Linked DNA regions of Homo sapiens: all the other regions are linked to region 2. Evidence: promoter capture Hi-C in 16 types of primary human blood cells and fetal thymus (Javierre and others, 2016). All regions are on one chromosome and are shown on one strand. The core of a region is centred on a gene start or on the middle of the fragment in contact, and the rest is flanking DNA. Distances in the headings are between cores, read along the strand shown.

What was found. Contacts are between HindIII fragments. The CHiCAGO score rates a contact against its expected background, and 5 or more counts as called.
Region 1: a contact is called between a fragment that was not itself captured here and the fragment with the promoter of LAS1L in region 2, in 5 of 17 cell types (non-activated CD4 T cells, naive CD8 T cells, total CD4 T cells and 2 more). The highest score is 8.2, in non-activated CD4 T cells.
Region 3: a contact is called between a fragment that was not itself captured here and the fragment with the promoter of LAS1L in region 2, in 2 of 17 cell types (naive CD8 T cells and total CD8 T cells). The highest score is 6.1, in naive CD8 T cells.
Region 4: a fragment that was not itself captured here is called in contact with the fragment with the promoter of LAS1L in region 2 in 1 of 17 cell types (neutrophils); the score reaches 5.7 in neutrophils.

What each region holds. Positions count from the first base shown.
Region 1 is chrX:66,731,097-66,734,075 of GRCh38, forward strand. No RefSeq gene overlaps it. Among named protein-coding and RNA genes, the nearest start is that of EDA2R, 94 kb to the left of the region's middle. The HindIII fragment of the contact is 1,399 bases long and covers 735-2,133 here.
Region 2 is chrX:65,533,462-65,536,453 of GRCh38, forward strand. It overlaps LAS1L (LAS1 like ribosome biogenesis factor), which reads right to left and starts at 1,326. Exons shown (of 14, transcript NM_031206.7): 1 at 1,019-1,326; 2 at 149-274. The coding sequence starts at 1,254. RefSeq lists an enhancer at 1,421-1,600. The HindIII fragment of the contact is 19,270 bases long and covers 1-2,992 here.
Region 3 is chrX:64,193,177-64,196,038 of GRCh38, forward strand. AMER1 (APC membrane recruitment protein 1) reads right to left here. Exons shown (of 2, transcript NM_152424.4): 2 at 1-208. The coding sequence starts at 110. Among named protein-coding and RNA genes, the nearest start is that of AMER1, 11 kb to the right of the region's middle. The HindIII fragment of the contact is 975 bases long and covers 770-1,744 here.
Region 4 is chrX:66,712,350-66,715,445 of GRCh38, forward strand. No RefSeq gene overlaps it. Among named protein-coding and RNA genes, the nearest start is that of EDA2R, 75 kb to the left of the region's middle. The HindIII fragment of the contact is 4,418 bases long and covers 1-3,096 here.

The sequences.
Region 1 (2,979 bases), core at 184-2,683, 1.2 Mb after region 2:
TTGCTTTGTGACTAAAAGCCAGACTCTAGATCTAGTTTTTCTGCTGAGTTCAAATTCCAGCATTACCACTTTCTAGTTGTGTGACTTTGGGCAAGTGACTTCACCTCTCTAAGCCTCAGTTTCCTCATTTGTGAAATGGAAGAACAATAGTAAGGCTGATGTGAAGATTAAATGAGTTATTTATGTAAAATACTTACAATAATGTTTGAAACCAGGTAAGTAGTATGTAAATGTCTCAGTTCCCCAGGCAAGATTGGTGGGAAATCAAAAGTCAGTCTTTTTTTTTTTTTTTTTCCTTGCAGCTTTCTAACATTACACAGAACTGCCAGGCTTAAACCAGGTTTAAGTAGTCCAGAAAAAAAAAATGGGTTATGTAGTCTTCAGCAGTCCCTCATGGCTGCCTTCTGGTGCTCACTGGTCATGTCCCAAGTGGTCCATTTCAAGGCTTTGTAATCCTTCAGTGCCAAGTCTCTAACAGGAGCTCACAATCTGATTTATTATGCTATACTGCCCCCTTCTGTGGATTATAGGTAATCAGTAACTATAGGGCTTACAGGCTGAGTTTCTCACATGCTTAATAAATGGTAGTGATTTTGTTTTATTAGCTTTAACGCTCACTCCTATTAGCGTGACTCCCAACCCTTAATGTTACCATGAGCAAACTAAAACAGGGAATAAGGGCATCTATCAAGGGCACATAAATAGTAAGTGATGGAAGTCTGGATTTGAATTCAAGCTTTGATAATTCTCACATTCCCAACTTTTAATTTTTATTGTATGTCTCTTTTTTAAATATTTCTGAATATGATCACATATAAGGACTGTCTATTTCCTACTTTAAAATCTTTTTCTCCTTTAGGAAGTCTTCCTGTATTCTGGCATATTATATTGTACTTCTATGTTGACTATTTTTAAGTTGTTTATGGAGGCGTGTATTATCCTCTATTTTTAGGTAGCTGAATAAAAAGAATGAGTTTTCCAATTCCTTGTTGAATTGGTTTCTAGAAAAAATGCCATTTAGTGAGAATATACTAAAATTCAAGAAACTCAGTTAAAAGGAGACTGGAGAAGAGCACTGAGATAAGTAACTCATGGACCCTGGTAAAGTATACTTGATAATAATAGGTGTTTAAAAAAGTCAACATCTCAAGAGCATGATTTATTTCTTATAAAAGATTACATCCCTCACAATCTAGCTCAATGCCTTATTTATAGTAAGAACTCAGGAAATATTTGTTGAATTGCCATTTAGAGTTTGCTGATAGGCTTCAGTCAATTTCAATCAAGTAATAATATATTTCCTCTGGATAGCTAGAAATGAAAATATTCTAATAAGAAAGATTTGCAGGTCATGAAAAATTTAACCTTTTACATGCAGACTTGTATCTTCATATTTTTAATAATAAGAATCACTGCAAAGTTAATAAGACAGTTCTGGGTTTTAATGTAGTAATAATAAATATGTAATGTTATTTGATTTTTCTTATTAAAGTGAGAGTCTTCTATAAGAATAATCATGAGGCATTGATAGAGGTGGAGTCAAAGATGTACATATAGCTTTGTGTGTCACAGCACTGATCAAATAATGAGTCTGAAGCTCATTATTATCATATATCATAACTTATTTTATTTATTAATGGTTTTGCCTCTCTTCTCTAAAAATTGAGAGAGATGTGGTTAAGTATAATATGGAAGACAGTAGCATAATTGTTTTCTATTTTGTAAACTTAATGGGTAAATCAAAAGCCAAGCAGCTGTTTAAAAAGTAATAATTTTATCTTTTAGAAAATCCTTATCAATATCAGATGTAAAGCAGTGTAATGAGAAGACCACTAAACTGGGAGTCAAAAGCATTTTATTCTGGTCCCAGCTCAACTTCTTGTTTGTGTGATCCCCTACTAGTTCCATGCTCTCCTCTCTGACCTTCAGTTTTCTCGTTTGTAAAATGAAGATTACAATGCCCATAAGGTTTTAGTGAGATTCAGTGAAACTGCTTTGTCAAAGTGTTGTACAAATTAGAAATAGTGTTATAGTAAGGCATCGGTAATGTTTTCTTTTTCTTGTCAAGAGTCTTCTAATGCTATCAGTTATTTTAACATCTGTAACATAAGACACCACATCAGTATCATTGTAAGCTTTAATCTACACTTGAATCACACCGGTATTAAGTCAATTGATGATATACAAAGGAGCAGTATCCATCATCACTCCAAAAAATTGTGCTGGTACATATTGGAGAGTGCTTGCTCTTAGCGTCCAAATTTATTTTTGTAAAAAAAAAAAAAACAGACATGCCTATAAACACAACACTAAGTTAAAAATTTCTATACGCCCTAGGTTTAATATGAAAGTCTACAGCCCTTTGCCTGTTTACTTCACTACAATGTAACAGCCTTTTTTCATTTCATAAATATCCTCTCATCTAATTCCACTCTAAATAACAGTGAGTTAGAACTATAATAATTCAAAACAGATTGCAAAGATAAATGCTTGAGAGGATGGAAACCCCATTCTCCATGATGTGCTTAGTTCACACTGTATGCCTGTATCAAAATATCACATTGCCCCATAAATACAAACACCTATTATGTACCCACAAAAATTTAAACAAATACTTAAGAAAACAGATTGCAAAACTAACAGGTGTACACAAGGAATACTAACATTACTATGTAACCATCATACCTTCTGATATCCACAGTATCCTTCCTATACTAACAATTTTGTACAGCTGTCTCTATAATACAAATAATTATAGAAATACAAGTTAATTGTACTTTAACACTGCAATCATGTAGAAAAGAATAAGTCTTTTGGATATTTTGTAGTTCTTTTTTCCTCCAGATGGAGATAGTCTGGTAAGACTCCTTGCTTCATGGTAGTAATCAAGGAAGGAAGTGTAAGAACTAAGACTTAAAGGATTAATTAAACATACATAATTGGAAGAAAAGACACTTCAGGCTGAGAGAGCAGTATATG
Region 2 (2,992 bases), core at 76-2,575:
TCAAGCAATAATCACAGGCTGATCCACAGTGAGGTACACGCAGGGTTTTGCTTCAGGTAACACCTGAAGCCAAGTTTTGCTTATCACATGCCTCCCCTGCCTCCAGTCCCCAAAGCCAACCTCCACCCCTACCCCATGCAGGTCTTACCTGACCAATGCCATGCCATAGAGCAGTCTAAGTTCATCAGTGCCCAAGCCACCAGTTACATCCAAGAGCTTACAGCGTATCAGGTCAGCAGTAGAAGCCACTGCCAGAGGGAGTTCGTTGCCTGACCTAAAGGGTCACAGTCCAGCACCATCATAAAGAGCCCTTACACTGGTCCACCCTCCACCTCAGAACCTAGGTTGTTGCAGGCTACACCCATCATATTCTGGTTCAAGAGAGCATGAACAGACACAAAACAAGAAGGTGGGAGGAGACACGGTAATGTCTGTGGGATCCAACAGTATACAGGGCATGAGGAGCTGACTAGGCCGTATACAGGACACCTAACTGGTAGACTGTCCATCAACAGTTGTGTGGACACACCCCTTTCTTTCACCCCCAAATCAACTCATTGAGCTAGAGGAGCCCCTTATCCCTTGTAAGTCGGCTCCCAACTCAATCTTACCAACTGGACTGAGGCGCCCCACTCAAACACTGTCTTGCAGGCAAGACTTCCTCCCCATTGGAATCGGAAATCTACCCTAGGGTACTAATCTACTCCTTAAGCCCTGGCTCAGGCCTCACTAGTCCCTCCGGCATCCTCTCCAAGTTGGGAGAAAGTCACTTTTTGGAGGTAATGGGTAAACCTCACAGATATAACAAGAGAATTGTTGAGGCACAACCCCTTACTTTCCATTCCGCTAACGGGATTAGCGCAAGAGATGGCTGCCGCGTTCCCCCAGGCATTTGGGAGAGGGACAACTTTAGGCGACTTAGGGGAAGACTGGAGAACAGGGCCTTATAGAAACTCGACAAAGGAAGAGGTGCAGCGCCACCAGCACGCAGGCAAAAGGGCCGAACCCGCCACCTTACCTGCTCCTCCACACCGTGATGCGGTTAAGCGCGTACCGCTGCAACTTATGGTCGTCACAGAACAGATAAACCGTCACCTGGTCCCACTCGGCCCTGCTGAGCCAGGCGACCACGATGCCGTGGGCCGAGAGTGGCAACGACCCTTTCCCTTTAACGCACTTTCCGTACCACGCACTCCACACGAGATCCATCCCCTGGGAACCTAGACCTGGCCCGGCCCCGGATTCCCACGACATACTGAGCTCAACAACAGGCTCTGTGCCGCGCCGCTCCGCACAGCCTTCAGCTCAGCGTGCTACCCTCACTCCGAACCGCCACCGCACCAGCAGCCAATAGGAGAGCGTGACCCCATACGCAAGCCCGCCTTCCAGCGTCAGCATGGCCAATCGGAACGTCAGAATTGGGCGCCGACCTAATGACATGCGGGGTTAAAAACTCACCGGCCGGAAGTGTTCTTTTCACAAAGCAAACCCTCCAGGGGCAAGAGTTCAGCCTCTAGGTTCCGCCAATTTCCTGGTTGCTAACCGGCTTCTGTACCAGACCGGAAGCGGTATGTCTTCACTGCAAGAGGAATTTTATTTTGCTCCCCTCGGCGGGTGGCAGCTTGATTGTAGTCATCCAGTGAACTGAAAATGCGATTTTAAGTATATTTTTATTGCCGTGAATCAGGACCTAACCTAGTAAAACACTGGACACTGAAGCAGGGCTACAGAGGAAATATCTCATATCGAAACAGTTACAGTTGGGTTGAAAAAATCTGCTTTTGTGGCAGGTAACCAGGGGCCCTGCCTTTTAAATTAGTACCAGCCTGGCCAGGCGTGGTGGCTCACGCCTGTAATCCCAGCACATTGGGAGGCCCAGGCGGGCGGATCACTTGAGGTCAGGAGTTCCAGACCAGCCTGGCCAAAATGGTGAAACCCGGTCTCTAGTAAAAATACAAAAATTAGCTAAGCATGGTTGCACATGCCTGTAATCCCAGTTACTCAGGAGGCTGAGGCACAAGAATCGCTTGAATCCGGGAGGCGGAGGCTGCAACAAGCCAAGATCGCACCAGTGCACTCCACCCTGGGTGACAGATCGAGACTCTGTCTCAAAAGTAAATTAAATAAATACATACATAAATAAATAAATAAATACCAGCCTAGAGACCTGAGTTTTACTCTAAATTTTGCCACTAACTATGTGGACTTAGACTAGTCTCAGTTTTCCCATCTGTACAGTGAGAGTTGTAGACTGGTCTCTAGGTTCTCTGTCATAGCAGAAAATTGTAGAATTTTACTCTGCCAACATTCCACTGCTATGTTGGTTTCAACATCCACCAAGGTATACTTAGTTTTTCTGCAAAATTCCTTGGTATTTTGGAGTTCTGGGAGAAAAGCGGTATTATGAAGTTCCTCCGATTTTACGAGTTGACTGAAATATGTTTAGGACTATGTCCCAATCCTTCTTGCAGAAGTTATTTTCCAATGTAACACTTGAGAGAGAGAGAGAGAGAACTGTTGCTAACGATCTTAACAGCATTGCTGTGAGTGGCACTTTTACGCTTCACAGCAACAAATCCCAATTCATCCTCTATATGTGCTTCTTTCTCCAGCCAACTTTTCCTAAGATATAGTCTGCCTATAGTTATTTTATTTTTCTTTTTTTCTTTTTCTTTTTTTTTTTGACATGGCGTCTGGCCCAGTCGCCCAGGCTGGAGTGCAGTGGCACAATTCTCGGCTCACTGCAACCTCTACCTCCAGGGTTCAAGTGATTCTCTTGCCTCAGCCTTCCAAGTAGCTGGGATTACAGGCGCCTGCCACTATGCTTGGCTAATTTTTGTATTGTTAGTAGAGACAGGGTTTCACCATGTTGGCCAGGCTGGTCTGGAACTCCTGACCTCAAGTGATCCACCAGCCCAGGCCTCCCAAAGTGCTAGGATTACAGGCATGAGCCACCGTGCCCGGCCTGCCTATGGTTCTTGACTGACAGTTA
Region 3 (2,862 bases), core at 7-2,506, 1.3 Mb before region 2:
GTCGCCTCAGCTGCCTTGTTCTTGGCTCCTTTTTCTGCTGTTTGTTCACGGGTACTCCCAGAGGCTGCAGCTCCCTTGGCCTGAGCAGCTTCATCCTTTTGGGTCTCCATGATGATGGGGACAACTGAGGTACGTCCAGCTGGAAATGCAGCCTCAGGCTTCCAGGCACTGTTATAACATTATCAGTCAGGAAGCATCACAGTGGGGTCTGGAGGAGATAGGAGAGACAAAGACAGAGAGACAGATACTAGTGAGCAAGCATCCAGGCTGGGTTTGCTTTCACCGGACGTCAGGCTTGAGTGGAACAAGAAAGAAAATGATGGAAAATGTGGGGCAAATCTTAATCCACTCGATATGCTTGGCTTGCTGGGCCAGCTCTCTCTGGGCCCCAAGGAAGCAAAACTCTACACTGAGCAACAAGAAGCCTTCATCCCCTACCTTCTTGCTGGGTCCACTCCCTTCAGACCATCCTAAGCTCAGGGGACCACTGGGCAGGGGGACCTGCAGTTGTGTGAAAGGCCTAGTGGTGCTATTGGCTGTGGGAGGTATTATCAATTATCAAAGGGGATGAGGATAGGGAGAGACAAGAAAGGCAAAAGGGATGTTGGCTCCAACATCACAGAATTTTTGAAAACCATCTGGCAAAACAGTCCATTGAGTCCTCACAGGGCTCTGTTGGATTCAAGCTTCAGTTTCATATTAGTCTGGGCTCTCACTGACATTTTGTCTGAGACTGAAAAGTGGACCTGAAGTTTCACCTCCCATCCAAAGCTTCCTAAATTGCCTGCAGAACCATGCTCAGGCTTCAGAATCTCAGAATAGGAGCCTCACACATCCACAAAGTAGGTCTGCAATCTAGAACCTGCTAAGACAATGAAATGGGAGCCTCAAGAAAGGTACTCTCTGGGCTTCAATATTCGCCATTCAAGAGGCCTATCAATATCTCTCCCTCAGAGAGGTGATATGAGGGTGGGTCTAAGCCAGACCCTCTATTGGCTGTCCTGCTGGGAAGATACTTTAATGCGGTCATCAATGGAACCCCAAATTCCACTTGAGAACCATGAGGTGGACTGTTTCTCCTCTACTCTCCTCCTCTTATTATTTTTGTCCCCATCTAGCTCCCTATCTAGGAAGGGAACTCCTTGAAGGCCCTACATGATTCATATTCCTGGTGTGTGAGATAGGTTCCCAATGGCTTTTTAAATAAATAAACCTGGTGCAAGCCACACCCTTCTGGTCAAGGCTCTCAATCCTCCAAATGCCCAAATACCAACAGAGATGGAATAAAAACAAGACCTAGCCACTACCCACCACAATATACCTCTGCACCTCTGGTCATCCGCTAGCTCAGTGACCAGCCTGCTAAAACCCAATGACCCCTCCCTGGGAAGTCCCTCACCAATTTGTCCCCTCTCTGTAGAGTGGCACCAGCAGATGGGGGAATCTGGGAGGAGAGGGGAGAGGGGAAGGGGAAGGGGAGGGAAGGAAGAGTAAGAGAGGGAGAGAGAAGCAAGCACCCTTGGTCCAAGAACAGCTGGACAGTACACCAGGCCTGTGATTGCTTGCCATAATAATAAGACTCACACATTCACCTAAAGTGGAAGACTGTGGACCAGCACTGAGCATGGAAAGAGGCTGGCAGCTACACTCTAGCCTTGGAGCCCCTGGTTCTGTCTTGCAAACATTAATTTTGTGCCTGCTGCCTTGCTTGGCTTGACACTTGAATCATCAGTGTGATGATCCAAGCTTCCATAAAGAACACTCTGCATAACTGAATATTAAAATTGGAGCAAGATAACAGCTGGTTATCCAGAAAAGAAAAGAGCAGGTGAAAAGGAAAGTTCATCTGAACCTCTCTCTGCAGAGATCTGAATTGCCATTTGCTCAGGTTAGAGATTTTTCTGTAACATATTTTGACATCACACTGTTCCAACTCAGCCCTGCAACTGATAGTCCCACAATAGACAGTGCCCCCTCCCACCTCCAAATACACACACAATCACACCTAAACACACAATCACCCAGTTTTCTGCCCCTGGGTCTGGTGGGAATAGGGGCCCTATCATGTCTGAATGCCCCACTTTCCACAGCACATTTTTACCTCAGCCTTAAAATTACTGCTAAGGTTATCGTCACGGTGTTGGGGATAGGGGAGTTGGGGAGGCAGTACTGGAGTTGTTTGTGAAATTCTATTCCCCTCTGGAATTCAGTGCTTCAGGGCAGGACAAGAAGGGAGAACTCCCAGCCTTTGCTTCTAAGGAGCTCCTAGGCTAACAGGGAGAGTCCTATATGTAACAGTCTGTTAGAAACTGGACCAAACAACAGGAAGTGACCGGCAGGCAGGAGGGCAAGGTGAACATTACCTGAGCTCTGCCTTCTGTCAGATCAGCAGAGGCATTAGATTCTCATAGGAGCGTGAACCCTATTGCAAACTGCGCATGCGAAGGATCTAGGGTGCACTCTCCTTATGAGAATCTAACAAATGCCTGATGATCTGAGATGGAACACTTTTATCCCAAAACCTTCCTCCTCTCCATCCATGGAAAAATTGTCTTCCATGAAACAGGTCCCTGGTTCCAAAAAGGTTGGGAACCGCTGCCTTAAAGAATAGCCCCTGTTATTTCTAAAGCTGGTTGGTGGAGTATCATTCTTTATACCTTGTAAACATATTCCAAGATAAATGTGAAAGGGAGAAAGACACTTCTTGGGCAGTAAGGCTGGGCCTCAAGGAAAACCTCACAGCCAAGTGAAAAACTCTAGGACCTACACATCCTTGTGAATCAAAGGCTGACTTGTCCTGCTGGGTTTGGGGCTGGAGTTCCTGGGAACAGAGTGATTTGGCAAATTGAATCACAAAGAAGG
Region 4 (3,096 bases), core at 242-2,741, 1.2 Mb after region 2:
GAACAGGTGGTGAATATTAATTGTCTCAATAAGAACTAGGAAAAACTTCAGGATGACATTGTTTTCACAGGCGGTTAGGGAAGTTTTAGGTGTGGGAATTATAAAGCATTGGAGGTAGCACCTGTCTCTACTGGGGCAGTGAGGGAAATCATGAGGCTAATGAGAGGAAGGATGTGAAAAGGTGAAGACACTTCAGAAGTCTTGTCTGAGAAGGATATGGTATACAGTTTACCTCATTTCATTTTAGTATTGATATATTCAAATTTCTCAATCATTTTCTCTATGACTTTTTGTGGCTTTGTCTTGAAAAATGATTTTTTTTCTTGTTAGAGCACTTACTATGGGCTAGGGACAGTGTGTGGAACTGGGGATGGATAAAGAGGCAAAAGGCATGGCCAGTACCTTCACATACTCACAGTCTACTTGGGTGACAGACATGTCAACAAATTATTACAATATAGTGTGTTCATGTAAACATGGAAGTATGTACAAAACAGAAATAGTAGAGGAAAGTAATAAACTGTCTGAGGGGGTAAGAAAATATTTCAAAGAGTAAGTTATGGCATGAATAAGGACAAACAGGAATTTACTAGGCAAACCAGGTGAGGACAAGGCATTATAGAAAAGAGAAACAGTAGGGTCAAAGGAACAGAAACACAAAATAGCAGGTATCTTCAGGGAATTGCAAAGGTCAAGGGCAGGTATGATGCCAAGAGATGGTCAGGACGGGGATATTATCTCGTACCTATAGAACCATTCAAATATTTCAAGTAAGGGAGTTACGTTGTTAGATCCAGGTTTTGGAGAGACCATTCTGGCAGCAGTGTGGAGAATAGATCTGGAGGAGTAGGTCGACAGAATCCACTGAGAATGCCATTGTAATAGTTCAGGCAATAGTAATGAGGGCCTGAAACTAGGCTGTCACAATGGAGACTCAGAAAAAAAGGAAAAATTTAAGAGCTAACGGGAAAATAAAAACAGAATTCCACCCCCTCCTTTAAAATCTCCTCATTTTTCTCTGCCTTTCATAGACAGCTGGCAGGGCTTCTCCAACTTTCATATGCTTCTCAACCTACTCTAACAGGGCTTCTACCTCCTGGCACCATCCAACTTCAGTTTTTGCAAGGTACCCAATGATTTTCATGTCAATAAAGCCAGTTGACATGTTTTTCAGTCCTCTTTTACTTCAGCTCTTTCTTTTTTTTTTTATTATACTTTAAGTTTTAGGGTACATGTGCACATTGTGCAGGTTAGTTACATATGTATACATGTGCCATGCTGGTGCACTGCACCCACTAACTCATCATCTAGCATTAGGTATATCTCCCAGTGCTATCCCTCCGCCCTCTCCCCACCCCACAACAGTCCCCAGAGTGTGATATTCCCCTTCCTGTGTCCATGTGATCTCATTGTTCAATTCCCACCTATGAGTGAGAATATGCGGTGTTTGGTTTTTTCTTCTTGCGATAGTTTACTGAGAATGATGATTTCCAATTTCATCCATGTCCCTACAAAGGACATGAACTCATCATTTTTTATGGCTGCATAGTATTCCATGGTGTATATGTGCCACATTTTCTTAATCCAGTCTATCATTGTTGGACATTTGGGTTGGTTCCAAGTCTTTGCTATTGTGAATAATGCTGCAATAAACATATGTGTGCATGTGTCTTTATAGCAGCATGATTTGTAGTCCTTTGGGTATATACCCAGTAATGGGATGGCTGGGTCAAATGGTATTTCCAGTTCTAGATCCCTGAGGAATCGCCACACTGACTTCCACAATGGTTGAACTAGTTTACAGTCCCACCAACAGTGTAAAAGTGTTCCTATTTCTCCACATCCTCTCCAGCACCTGTTGTTTCCTGACTTTTTAATGATCACCATTCTAACTGGTGTGAGATGGTATCTCATTGTGGTTTTGATTTGAATTTCTCTGATGGCCAGTGATGATGAGCATTTTTTCATGTGTTTTTTGGCTGCATAAATGTCTTCTTTTGAGAAGTGTCTGTTCATGTCCTTCGCCCACTTTTTGATGGGGTTGTTTGTTTTTTTCTTGTAAATTTGTTTGAGTTCATTGTAGATTCTGGATATTAGCCCTTTGTCAGATGAGTAGGTTGCGAAAATTTTCTCCCATTCTGTAGGTTTCCTGTTCACTCTGATGGTAGTTTCTTTTGCTGTGCAGCTCTTTAGTTTAATTAGATCCCATTTATCAATTTTGTCTTTTGTTGCCATTGCTTTTGGTGTTTTAGACATGAAGTCCTTGCCCATGCCTACGTCCTGAATGGTAATGCCTAGGTTTTCTTCTAGGGTTTTATGGTTTTAGGTCTAACATTTAAGTCTTTAATCCATCTTGAATTGATTTTTGTATAAGGTGTAAGGAAGGGATCCAGTTTCAGCTTTCTACATATGGCTAGCCAGTTTTCCCAGCACCATTTATTAAACAGGGAATCCTTTCCCCATTGCTTGTTTTTGTCAGCTTTGTCAAAGATCAGTTGGTTGTAGATATGTGGCGTTATTTCTGAGGACTCTGTTCTGTTCCATTGATCTATATCTCTGTTTTGGTACCAGTACCATGCTGTTTTGGTTACTGTAGCCTTGTAGTATAGTTTGAAGTCAGGTAGTGTGATGCCTCCAGCTTTGTTCTTTTGGCTTAGGATTGACTTGGTGATGCGGGCTCTTTTTTGGTTCCATATGAACTTTAAAGTAGTTTTTTCCAATTCTGTGAAGAAAGTCATTGGTAGCTTGATGGGGATGGCATTGAATCTGTAAATTACCTTGGGCAGTATGGCCATTTTCACGATATTTATTCTTCCTAGCCATGAGCATGGAGTGTTCGTCCATTTGTTTGTATCCTCTTTTATTTCCTTGAGCAGTGGTTTGTAGTTCTCCTTGAAGAGGTCCTTCACATCCCTTGTAAGTTGGATTCCCAGGTATTTTATTCTCTTTGAAGCAATTGTGAATGGGAGTTCACTCATGATTTGGCTCTCTGTTTGTCTGTTGTTGGTGTATAAGAATGCTTGTGATTTTTGTACATTGATTTTGTATCCTGAGACTTTGCTGAAGTTGCTTATCAGCTTAAGGAGATTTTGGGCT